3 separate regions of the Homo sapiens genome follow, and all the other regions are linked to region 1. The links are contacts of gene promoters, found by promoter capture Hi-C in human tissues and cell types (Jung and others, 2019). All regions are on one chromosome and are shown on one strand. The core of a region is centred on a gene start or on the middle of the fragment in contact, and the rest is flanking DNA. Distances in the headings are between cores, read along the strand shown. Region 1 holds the start of FMOD (fibromodulin). Region 2 has its middle 7.7 kb from the start of LINC01353. Region 3 overlaps LOC102723529 (a long non-coding RNA gene).

Evidence for each region. Contacts are between HindIII fragments. The study calls those that stand out against the background at their distance.
Region 2: a fragment that was not itself captured here is called in contact with the fragment with the promoter of FMOD in region 1 in 1 of the 25 tissues and cell types used here (IMR-90 fibroblasts).
Region 3: a contact is called between a fragment that was not itself captured here and the fragment with the promoter of FMOD in region 1, in 1 of the 25 tissues and cell types used here (liver).

What each region holds. Positions count from the first base shown.
Region 1 is chr1:203,349,433-203,352,926 of GRCh38, reverse strand. FMOD (fibromodulin) reads left to right here and starts at 1,805. Exons shown (of 3, transcript NM_002023.5): 1 at 1,805-1,894. The HindIII fragment of the contact is 7,092 bases long and covers 1-3,494 here.
Region 2 is chr1:203,293,072-203,296,565 of GRCh38, reverse strand. No RefSeq gene overlaps it. Among named protein-coding and RNA genes, the nearest start is that of LINC01353, 7.7 kb to the right of the region's middle. RefSeq lists an enhancer at 1-207. The HindIII fragment of the contact is 5,946 bases long and covers 1-3,494 here.
Region 3 is chr1:203,387,188-203,390,681 of GRCh38, reverse strand. All of the region lies in intron 5 of LOC102723529 (a long non-coding RNA gene), which reads right to left. Among named protein-coding and RNA genes, the nearest start is that of BMNCR, 19 kb to the left of the region's middle. The HindIII fragment of the contact is 6,096 bases long and covers 1-3,494 here.

The DNA.
Region 1 (3,494 bases), core at 556-3,055:
CACATGAGTTTATCTAAGCTATTGAGATTCTGTGTGACCCACATTATAATGGTTCTCAAATGTTTTCTTCCAGCCCCTAAACTCCAGATTCAGATTCATATGTCCAACGGTCTACGTGCATCTCCAGGGGAATGCCTAGCAGGCATCTCTAACAGCATATCCAAAATGTAACTTTGGTTTTCTACCCAACTCAGTCCCACGTCACCTTTCCCATGTCAAGAAATGTTACCACCACCTACCCAGTTGCTCAAACTAAAATTCTAGGAATCATCCTTGACTTTTCCTAACTCTGCAAGACTTGTCAGTTCTCTGTCTAAAATATAAGATCTTCTCTTCCATTGCACCAGTCCAATCTGCCATTACCTCTCCTTGAGGCTGGGTTGGAGCCTCCCTGCTTCCACCCTGGCCTCCCCTTCTCCATACAGCAGCCCCTCCTACATGCTTTTAAAATGTAAATTAGATCCCATGCAAATCAGATCCCATGGCTTCTCCTGCTTGAAACATGTTTTTTTTTTTAAACATTTAGAATAGGCCGGACCGGATGACGCACGCCTGTAATCCCAGCACTTTGGGGCACTGAGGTGGGTGGATCACCTGTGTTTAGGAGTTCAAGACCAGCCTGACCAATATGATGAAACCCTGTCTCTACTAAAAATACAAAAAATTAGCTGGGCGTGGTGGCGTGTGCCTGTAGTCCCAGCTACCCAGGAGGCTGAGGCAGGAGAACGGCTTGAACCTGGGAGGCGGAGGTTGCAGAAAGCAGAGATTGTGCCACTGCACTCCAGCCTGGGCGACACAGCGAGACTCCTTTTCGATCTCCTGACCTCATGATCCTCCTGCCTCGGCCTCCCAAAGTGCTGGGATTACAGGCATGAGCCACCACGCCCAGCTGAGACTCCTTCTCAAACAAACAAACAACAACAACAACAACAAAAACATTTAGAATAAAAACCAAATCACTTCCATCGCCCAAAAGTCCTTTCATGGTACAGCTCCTGCCCAGCTTTCTGATCTTGTCTTTCCCTGGCTGAGGAATTCTATGGCTGTGAAATGGGTAGGACACAGTGAACCTCAGCTATGTGCCAGGTCAGGAGCCTCCCACACATCACCTGATACAGTCCTTGCTACAACCCAGCAAGGTAAGTGTTATTAACTCTGAATTTGTTGTGAGCATTAAGTGGAAGTGGATGATGCTAGTGCATAAGCAGTGATCAGCAAATGCTGGAGTCCCTGCCTTTCCTTTTGTTCCAGTGGTGGAGGTGGGCAGGACCTGTAGCCTAGAAAAGTCTACACTGCTTAGGGATAGAACTGGAACCAGAGCCGGCTGTCCCTTGTCATTCATGCTCCCTTATCCACTAGCCTGATGACCTGTCTATAGGGGGAGCTGAGAAGCGCGAGTTCTCGCTCTCTGGAGGGACATGTGGGTTGCTGAAGGAGTTAAGATGTCTCTTACCAAACCCTGGCCCTCCCCATCCCTGCATCTGCCTTTGTGGCTTTAATGAGAAATCCAGGCGCTTCATAAGAGACTGTACAAATAACTTCTAGGGCGCCACTAACTCATTCAGCAGAAAGGGACCCAGGGCTGCCAATGTTTCAGGGAAGATAAGTGAGTGGAAAAAAGGTGGTTTTTATAGCGTCAGGCGGACCGAAGGATTTGCGTGGTTGAGCGTGAACTCCGCCCCTGCAGCAGAGCTGAAAAAAACCAGGATCCGGGTTCCTCAGCCCCTTTTCACAATATTTGATTAGGAATTTGGGGCGGGACCCTGGTCTGGCACAGGCACGCACACTCTCAGTAGACTCTTTCACTCCTCTCTCTCTTCCTCTCTCACACGTTCTCCAACCCAAGGAGGCCAGACAGAGGGACGTGGTCACTCTCTGAAAAGTTCAACTTGAGGTAAGTATAGTCGTTTTACTTCGGGTTTGTCCCTAGCAGTTCCTTAAAAGAAATAAAGGAAAAGTGGTAGGGGATAGGGGAGATGGGGAGGCAGGGAGGGTTCATTCCTCCTTCTCCACATCTGGGCCATGACCCCAGGGATGCTGGAGAGTGGCAGAGAGGGTGTATAAGGGAGGGGTTCCAGCCCTGTACCTTTCTCTTACAGTTCCTTTATGGGTGCTGAGGGGACCTCCAATTCTCAGGCATGAAAAAGTGAAGGACCCTCTGTCTAGGGAAGCTTCTTCCCTGCTACTCATAAATCCCATCATGCTGGGAGTGTGGGCATTTTGAAGGGTATTCCAAGACCTGGATGTCCCTGCAATCTCTCTTATAGAGGGGTTTGGTACATAAATGCTATTATGGGAGAGGGGGAAACTTTTGTGTAGAATGTGTGTGTGTGTGTGTGTGTGTGTGTGTTTGGAGTGGAAAGGAGAGAATAAAAAGAAGCATTGAGAACTGGCCATGTCCAGGGAGCTGTGGATTGGGGTGGGGATGCAATCCAGGTGAGGGGATGGCCTCTGGCTTGACCTTCTCCACTGATAGGAGGGAGAGATCTTTCTCTAGAGTGGAGAAATGAAAGAACAGCAGTAGCTCCTGAGTAAACTTCCCCCAGCTGATAGTGTGGCAGTCCTGGAAACTTTCGACCTTACAGAAACTCTGAGCACAGGAGGGCCTCTAGCATTATGGGAAACAGTGTAAGACTATGCAACCCTGAAGCAACATTGCTAAGAGATGGGATGGGGTAAGGAGAGGCATAAGCTCCCCATCAAACCCTTTCAGCACCCATGGCTCTAAGAAGAGGCTGAAGTGGGCAGGGTGCACAGCCCCTAGAAAGCTGAGTCTGAAGGGGAAGGTGGCTCTTGTCTGCCAAGGTGCCCAGTCTGAAAGAAGGAGAAACGGAGACAGAGGCTCACTGTGCCAGCCCTCCAGACAGCCACCTTGGTCCTGCAACAGCCCAGGGCTGTGCATGGAAAAATGCTCTGTTGGCAGTGGGCCGCTCCATTCGTCTTCTCTCCTGGCCAGAGCCAGGAACCAGCCAGCTTGCCCAGGCAGTGGGCAGTTGGGTCAGCTTCTCCAAAACACTGTGGCTCTTTGTCTGAGGCCTGAGGCTGCCTGTGGATGAGCCAGGGTGCCTGCTCCTCTGCAACCTAGGAACTGATGGGATGAAGTGGGCCCAAGGAAACTGTTTTGAGGGGACAGAGAGGTCTGGGATGGATGGTGGTCAGGAGGTAACTCTGTTGAGTGTCATAGTTGGGGTCTTTCCCATCAGTTCACTGGATCTGATGATGTTGGCTTTTATACTCCTTTCTTTCTTCTGTTTACAGTTGCCAACCCCAGTAGGCCCAACAGCAATGTGAGGGCTGTATGTGACTCTTCCAGGCCAAGAAAGATTCTAAGGTTTCTCTGTCCAAGGGTGACACTCAGGAAGATGCCCACTGCTCACAGGAGTATGTCATGCATTGGCTATAGGTAACCAGGGTAGGGTACCCAGGCCACCCCTAGTCTCTTACCTTCCATACCTTTAGTTTCCCTCTCAGATGACATCAGACCCACATTTCCT
Region 2 (3,494 bases), core at 288-2,787, 56 kb after region 1:
GCCACCCTGGCTGTGTGGTCAGGGAAGGGTGAAGGCAAGAAGGATGGCGGAGGGTACAGGAGAGACAGTGAAGACGGGATGAGGTGGGAGCTGGGGAAGGGGAAGAGACGTGGACAGATGGCCAGACCAATATGGCTGGAAAGGTCCCTAGTGATGTGTTTTTGTTTCTGCGACTCCCTCGGTGTATCAGGAGCAAAAGGATGGGAACGATCTGCTAAAAGTCTGTTATCCTGGAGGCCCCCCAAGAATGTGACCTCCCACACCTTCTCCCTCTAGGCCTTCTCCTATGGTACGAGAAGGTGTGACTGAAAGTGCCAGAAACTCACAGGGGAACACATGGACTTGGGACAGAAGCAGATCTGAAGCTGAATTTATTGCCTCTTTCCCAAATTTAGAAGACAGACATGTTGTAAACCCTCCTCATCCTCACTCCCAGGGGCCCAGGATAAACCCCCTTTATCTCCAGACAAAAAACAAGAGAAGAGGCCCTGAACCTATTGGAGCTTCCCCAGATGTTGTTTTGGCAGAGCCGTAATGGGGCTGGGCCTCCTGGGGCTGAGTGTCTGGGGCAAGCAGGAAGCTGGCATCACAGCTGTGACAGCCAGAGACCACCTGGGGGATGGGGGCTGAAGGGAAGAGGAAGACAGATTCAGAAAGGAGGACACAAGAAAAAGTCTAAAGAAGAGGTACTGCAGCTTCTCACCTGTGGCCTCCTGGCTCTGGGCCTGAGGTACTTCTCTACTGCACCATGGGTTCAGGTCCAGGGATCCGTGTGGTTTGGAGGAAGGAGCTAGGAGAAAGGGAGAGATGGTTGGAGTTCCCTGAGCCTTAGTTTGCTTATATGTAACAAAAGAGTATTGGGCTAGGAGACCCACCCTGCCTCTTAATCTGTCATCTATGGTTCACATTGATGACTCCTTGGGTCCTAGTGGAATACGTGATCACCTGCCAGCAAGAGAGGATTTTCCTGATGAGGTGACAAGATATCCTGGAGCCCTACTTCCTGAGCGGATCCCATATCCAATTACTGGCCCAGTCCTGTCAGTTATCCTCTTGAAATACCTTCTACTCAGCATCACTGAAGCCACCAACTGTTAGATCGTTCTTGGATAGTTTCAACAGTTCCCTAAGTGGTCTCTTTGCCTGAAGTGCTTCCCTTCCTGCCCTTTCCTCAGTCCATACTCTGCTGTCAGAGCTCCTAAACTACAGGTCTGTCTTGTCTCTTTCATGTTTAAAAGCTCTGAAGGCTCCCTACAGTTGAAAGTTTAATTCTTGGTTTGGCCTTCAAGGCCTTTACAATCTGGCCCAACCTCAAAGCTCAATTAACCCATTCTCAGTGTTTCTCAAATACATACTTTGCACTTTCATACCATTGTGCCTTTGTAGTTTCAACAGTGAGGTCTTGCCATGTTGCCCAGGCTCTGGAGTGCTGTGCTTACTCACAGGCATGAACATAGCTCCCTACAGCATCAAACTCCTCACCTCGAGTGATCATCCTCCCTCAGCCTCCTGAGTAGCTGAGTGCCCAGCTTATTGTACCTTTACTCATATTATTTGCTCTGCCTGAAATTCTCTCTGTTCAGCTCTTTGTCCATCAAAAAGCTGACTAATTATCTCCGTGCAAGTGATACAGAAGGAGTGAAAACATTATTTTTCCCACATTATTGAAGAAAAAAGTAAGGAACATATAGGGCAATGGACATGTCAGGAAAGTCTCTAAAAAGGGGGCTGGGGTAGTGGGGTGAGAGTGGGCTAGGGAAGGGTGGGAAAGGATTCTAAATCCTACTTCCTCCATCCCTTCCACTAAGAATAAGGTTGGGGAGGAGTGGAAAGGAATCTTTATTTAGATTAAGAATGGGTGGCCTGAGCTGCTTGTTATGATATATTAGTCTTTTTTTTTGAGACAGGATCTCACTCTGTTGCTTAGGCTGGAGTATAGTGGCATGGTCTCGGCTCACAGCAACCTCCATCTCCCGTGTTCAAGCTATTCTCCTGCCTCAGCTTCCTGGGTAGCTGGGATTACAGCTGTGCGCCACCACACCTGGCTAATTTTTGTTATTTTTAGTAGAGACGGGGTTTCTCCATGTTGGCCAGGCTCGTCTCAAACTCCTGACCTCAAGGGATCTGCCCACCTCGGCGTCCCAAAGTGTTGGGATTATAGGCACCTGGCCTTATATCAGTCTTGTTTTGATGATGACTGGCTCCGATGGCATATAATTATGCTTTTTTACATTGGTGTCCCTGGATGGGCTAATTAAGTTTTTGAACTGACGGATTTGTTCTAGTGCGATGGGCAGAGCACATCCCTTAAAGCCACACTGCTTAGGTTCAAATCCTAGCTGTGCTACCTTAGGCAAGTTATTGAAGCTTTCTGTGCCTTAATTTCTTTATCTATAAAATGAGATTAATAGTAATTCTTACCTCTTAGAGTTGTTGGGAGAATCAAATGAGTTTACAATACTTAGAATAGTGTCTGGCACATAATAGTGGTCAGTACATGTTAACTATTATTACTTATAATTTATACTTTGCTTACTTCCAAGAAGAATTTGAGACAGCTTAAAATATTAAACCACATAGAGGATGATTTTATGTGTGTGTTTATATTATATTAAAGATCAGAAACGAATTGGTAGTAGGAGGAAGAAAGAGAAAGATAGATATTTACAAACTTGTTTGAATCAGATACTTCTTTGACACCTAAATTTATCTTTGAACTTCCAGGAAGCCAAGGTAAAAAGGGAAATACCTGCATTATATAGTTTTCATTGTGAAATATAAAAAAGCATTCAAGTTAGCCTGTTAAAACCCACCCCCACCAGCCCGCTACATCCACACATTCCTCAAGAAGAAATTTATGATATGAATCCCTATGTTGGAATACTGGAGCCAAAGAGTCTGAAGTTGTTCTCAGTTGGCATTTAGTATCTTCCTCAATTGGGTTTACCTTTCATAAGAGCCCATAACGACAACAGAAGTAATCAGGATAATGGCTGGGATAGTAACAATCAATATCATCTCTACATTTCTTTCTATCCTTATTTCAGGGTTTCCTTCCTTCCCTCTTGGCTCAGGAACTCTCTGAGGTCAGGGGTTGAGCCTCGCTCGGTCAAATAGTCAGGTGGCCCCAGGTGGTTTCAGCTGCCTCCCTGAAGCATTAGAGTTGTGTAGAAGCAAGGTGGAACCCATGGCAAAAACTCATGAGGTGAATGGAGACAGGAAGGTTATGAGGTATGTCTAAGAGGGCTTTGAGACGATTGAGCTCCCAAACATGTAACAGAATGATTATCTTAGTGGGAATGGGTAAGCTCCTAGAAAGAGAACAACTCTGTGTCCCCTATTTTTTGAATTCAGCAGAATCTATTGTAAGTCAATATCCTTATGTAAAAACATTGCATAAGTCCAGGAAGACCACCACCACGATCTTCCAGCCTGACCTGCCAGGCTTAAAAAAAGCGGCTCGGCCAGGCGCAGTGGCTCACACCTGTAATCCC
Region 3 (3,494 bases), core at 331-2,830, 38 kb before region 1:
TTATTATCTTACAAGTCTGTAGGTCAGAAGTCTGACATATATCTCCCTGGACTAAAAGTCAAGGTGTTAGCAAGGCCAAATTCCTTTCTGGAGGCTGTAGGGGAGAATCTATGTCCTTGCCTTTTCCAGTTTCTATAGGCTTCGTACATTCCTTGGCTGTGACCCTCTTCCTTCCTCTTCAAAGCCAACAATGGCTAGTTGAGCCCTTCTCATATTGCATCATTCTGACCTCCTCTTCCTCCTTCTTCTTTTGTTTTTCAGGACATTTGTGACTACTTTCGGCCCACCCAGATCATCCAGGATAATCTTTCTATTTTAAGGTCAGCAGATTAACAATCTTAATTCCATCTGCAACCTTAATTCCTCTTTGCCATGAAAGGTAATATATTCACAAGTCCCAGAGATTAGGTTGTAGAAATCTTTGAGGGTGGAGCATTATTCTGTTAAGAGGAAAATTTAAAATTTCTGCTCTTGGAATGATATTGTTACAAAAATAAAAAGCAAGCCGTAGACTGGGAGAAAAGATTTGCAAAACATATATTAAACAAAAGACTTGTATCTAGAAAGTATAAAGAAGCCTTAAAACTCAATAAGAAGACAAACAACTCAATTAAAAGATGGGAAAAGATTTGAAGAGACAGTTCACCAAAGAAGATGTATGGATGGCAAATAAGCACATGAGAAGATGCTCAGTATCATCAGCCAATAGGCGAATGCATTTAAAATCACAAAGAGATACTACCACACACCCTAGAACCAGAAATACCATTTGACCCAGCCATCCCATTACTGGCTATATACCCAAAAGATTATAAATCATTCTACTGTAAAGACACATGCACACGTATGTTTATTGCAGCACTATTTACAACAGCAAAGACTTGGAACCAACCCAAATGCCCATCAATGATAGACTGGATAAAGAAAACATGGCACATATACACCATGGAATACTATGCAGCCGTAAAAAGGATGAGTTCATGTCCTTTGCAGGGACATGGATGAAGCTGGAAGCCATCATTCTCAGCAAACTAACACAGGAACAGAAAACCAAGCACCGCATGTTCTCATTCATAAGTGGGAGTTGAACAATGAGAACACATGGATACAGGGAGGGGAAAAACACACACTGGGGCCTGTCGGGGGGTGGGGGCCAAGGGGAGGGAGAGCATTAGGACAAATACCTAATGCATGTCAGCTTAAAACCTAGATGATGGGTTGATGGGTGCAGCAAACCACCATGGCACATGTATACCTATGTAACAAACCTGCACATTCTGCACATGTATCTGGAACATAAAGTAAAATTAATTTTTTTAAAAAGTAAATACTGTTTGAGTCCATTTATGTAAAATTCCAGATGATTAAATTATAGTAGCAGAAAACAGACAAGTAGTTGCCTGGAGATGGAGTTGGGGAGGAAAAGGTGTGGTGGATTACAAAGAGGCATAATAAAACTTTTGGGAATAATGGATATTGTACTAGTTTTTTATTGCTGCATAACAGATTACTACAAATTTGTTTAAAACAACACACAATTGTCATCTCACAATTACTAGGGGTCAGCAATCTAGGCATGGCTTAGCTGGGTGCTCTGCTCTAGGGTTCCTCACAAGGCTGCAGACTCATCTCAGCGCTTTCCTGGGGAAGGATCTGCTTCTAAGGTCACATGATGATTGGCAGGGTGCAGTTCCTTATGGGTTATTGGACTGAGAGCCTCAGTTTCTCACTGGCTATTGGCCAGGGGCCACGCTCACTTCTTTGCCATGTGGGCATCCCCATAGGGCAGCTCACAGCATGCAGCTTGCTTCATCAAAGGCAGCAAGGGAGAGAGTCTACTGGCAAGATGGAAATTGCACTCTTACATAAAACAATCACAGCAGCGATTTATTCTTTTGGTTAGAAAAAAGCTGTGGGTCCTGCCCACACAATGGGGTTCACAGGGCATGGATACCAGGTGGAGGGGGGACAACTGGGGGCCCTTTTATAGTCTGTCTGCCAGAGGTATGGTCATTTACATGATTGTGCTTATGATTTTATAGATATATATTAATGTCAAAACTTATCAAATTGTGCATGTTAAAATGTGCAGTTTTTGTCCATCAATTATACTTCAACACAGTTGTAAGAAGCTAAGAAACAGGACGGGCGTGTTGGCTCACACCTGTAATCCCAGCACTTTGGGAGGCCCGAGGTGGTTGGATCACTTGAGATCACGAGTTCCAGACCAGCCTGGTGAACATATAGTGAAACCCCATCTCTACTAAAAAATACAAAAATTAGCTGGGCATGGTGGTGGATGCCTGTAGCCCCAGCTACTTGGGAAACTGAGGCAGGAGAATCGCTTGAACCAGGGAGGTAGAGGTTGCAGTGAGCTGAGATTGCACCATTGCACTCCAGCCTGGATGACAGCGAGACTCCTAAGAAACAAAAAGCTTGACAAGCTGATTATAGAATAATACGGAAATGCAAACAGCCAAAGCCAGCTATGACAGAGGAAGGGAGTTTTGCCCTATCAAATATGAAGACTTGTTATAAAACCATTGTAGTTAAGAGTGTGGTATTCATACAGGGATAGACAATCAAGCAGAACAGATTAGAGAACCCAGAAACAGAGCCACATATACGTGGAAACCTGATAAACAACAGAGATGGCATTCTTAAACCAACGGGGAAAGGATGGACTTCTAAATAAATGAGGCAGCGACAATTGGGTATCCATATGGAAAAAAATAAAATTAGATATCTACCTCATAACATTCACAAAAATAAATTTCAGGTGAAGTAGACACCTAAATGTTTCAAAAGCAAAACTTTAAAACTTTTAGAAGAAAATATAGATTTATCTTTATGCCTTTTGTGTAGGGAATAAATTTTTAAAAAATATTGAAAATGTAAGCTACAAAAGAGCAATCAATTTGATTGACTTAAAATTATAATCTTCTGTACAACAAATTACCATCTACTAAATGAAAAGACAAGCCACATAAGAGGGAAAATTATTTACAACTGAATAAAAGATTTGTACTCATATTATATAAAAAACTATTCAGAATCGGCCAGGTGTGGTGGCTCACGCCTGTAATCCCAGCACTTTGGGAGGCTGAGGCAGGCGGATCACGAAGTCAGGAGATTGAGATCATCCTGGCTAACACGGTGAAACCCCATCTCTACTAAAAATACAAAAAAATTAGCTGGGCATGGTGGCACCTGCCTGTAGTCCCAGCTATTCGGGAGGCTGAGGCAGGAGAATGGCATGAACCCGGGAGGTGGAGGATGCAGTAAGCCAAGATCATGCCACTGCACTCCAGCCTGGGAAACAGAGCGAGACTCCATCTCAGAAAAAAAAAAAAAAAAAAAAGACCTATTCAGAATCAGTAAGAAAAGCATAGACCCAGTAGACAAACTGACAAATTATATAAACAAGTAATTCACAAAAGAGAAAACCCCAAATCCTGTATATTTGCAAAAAGATTCTTAACTTTACTATTAAT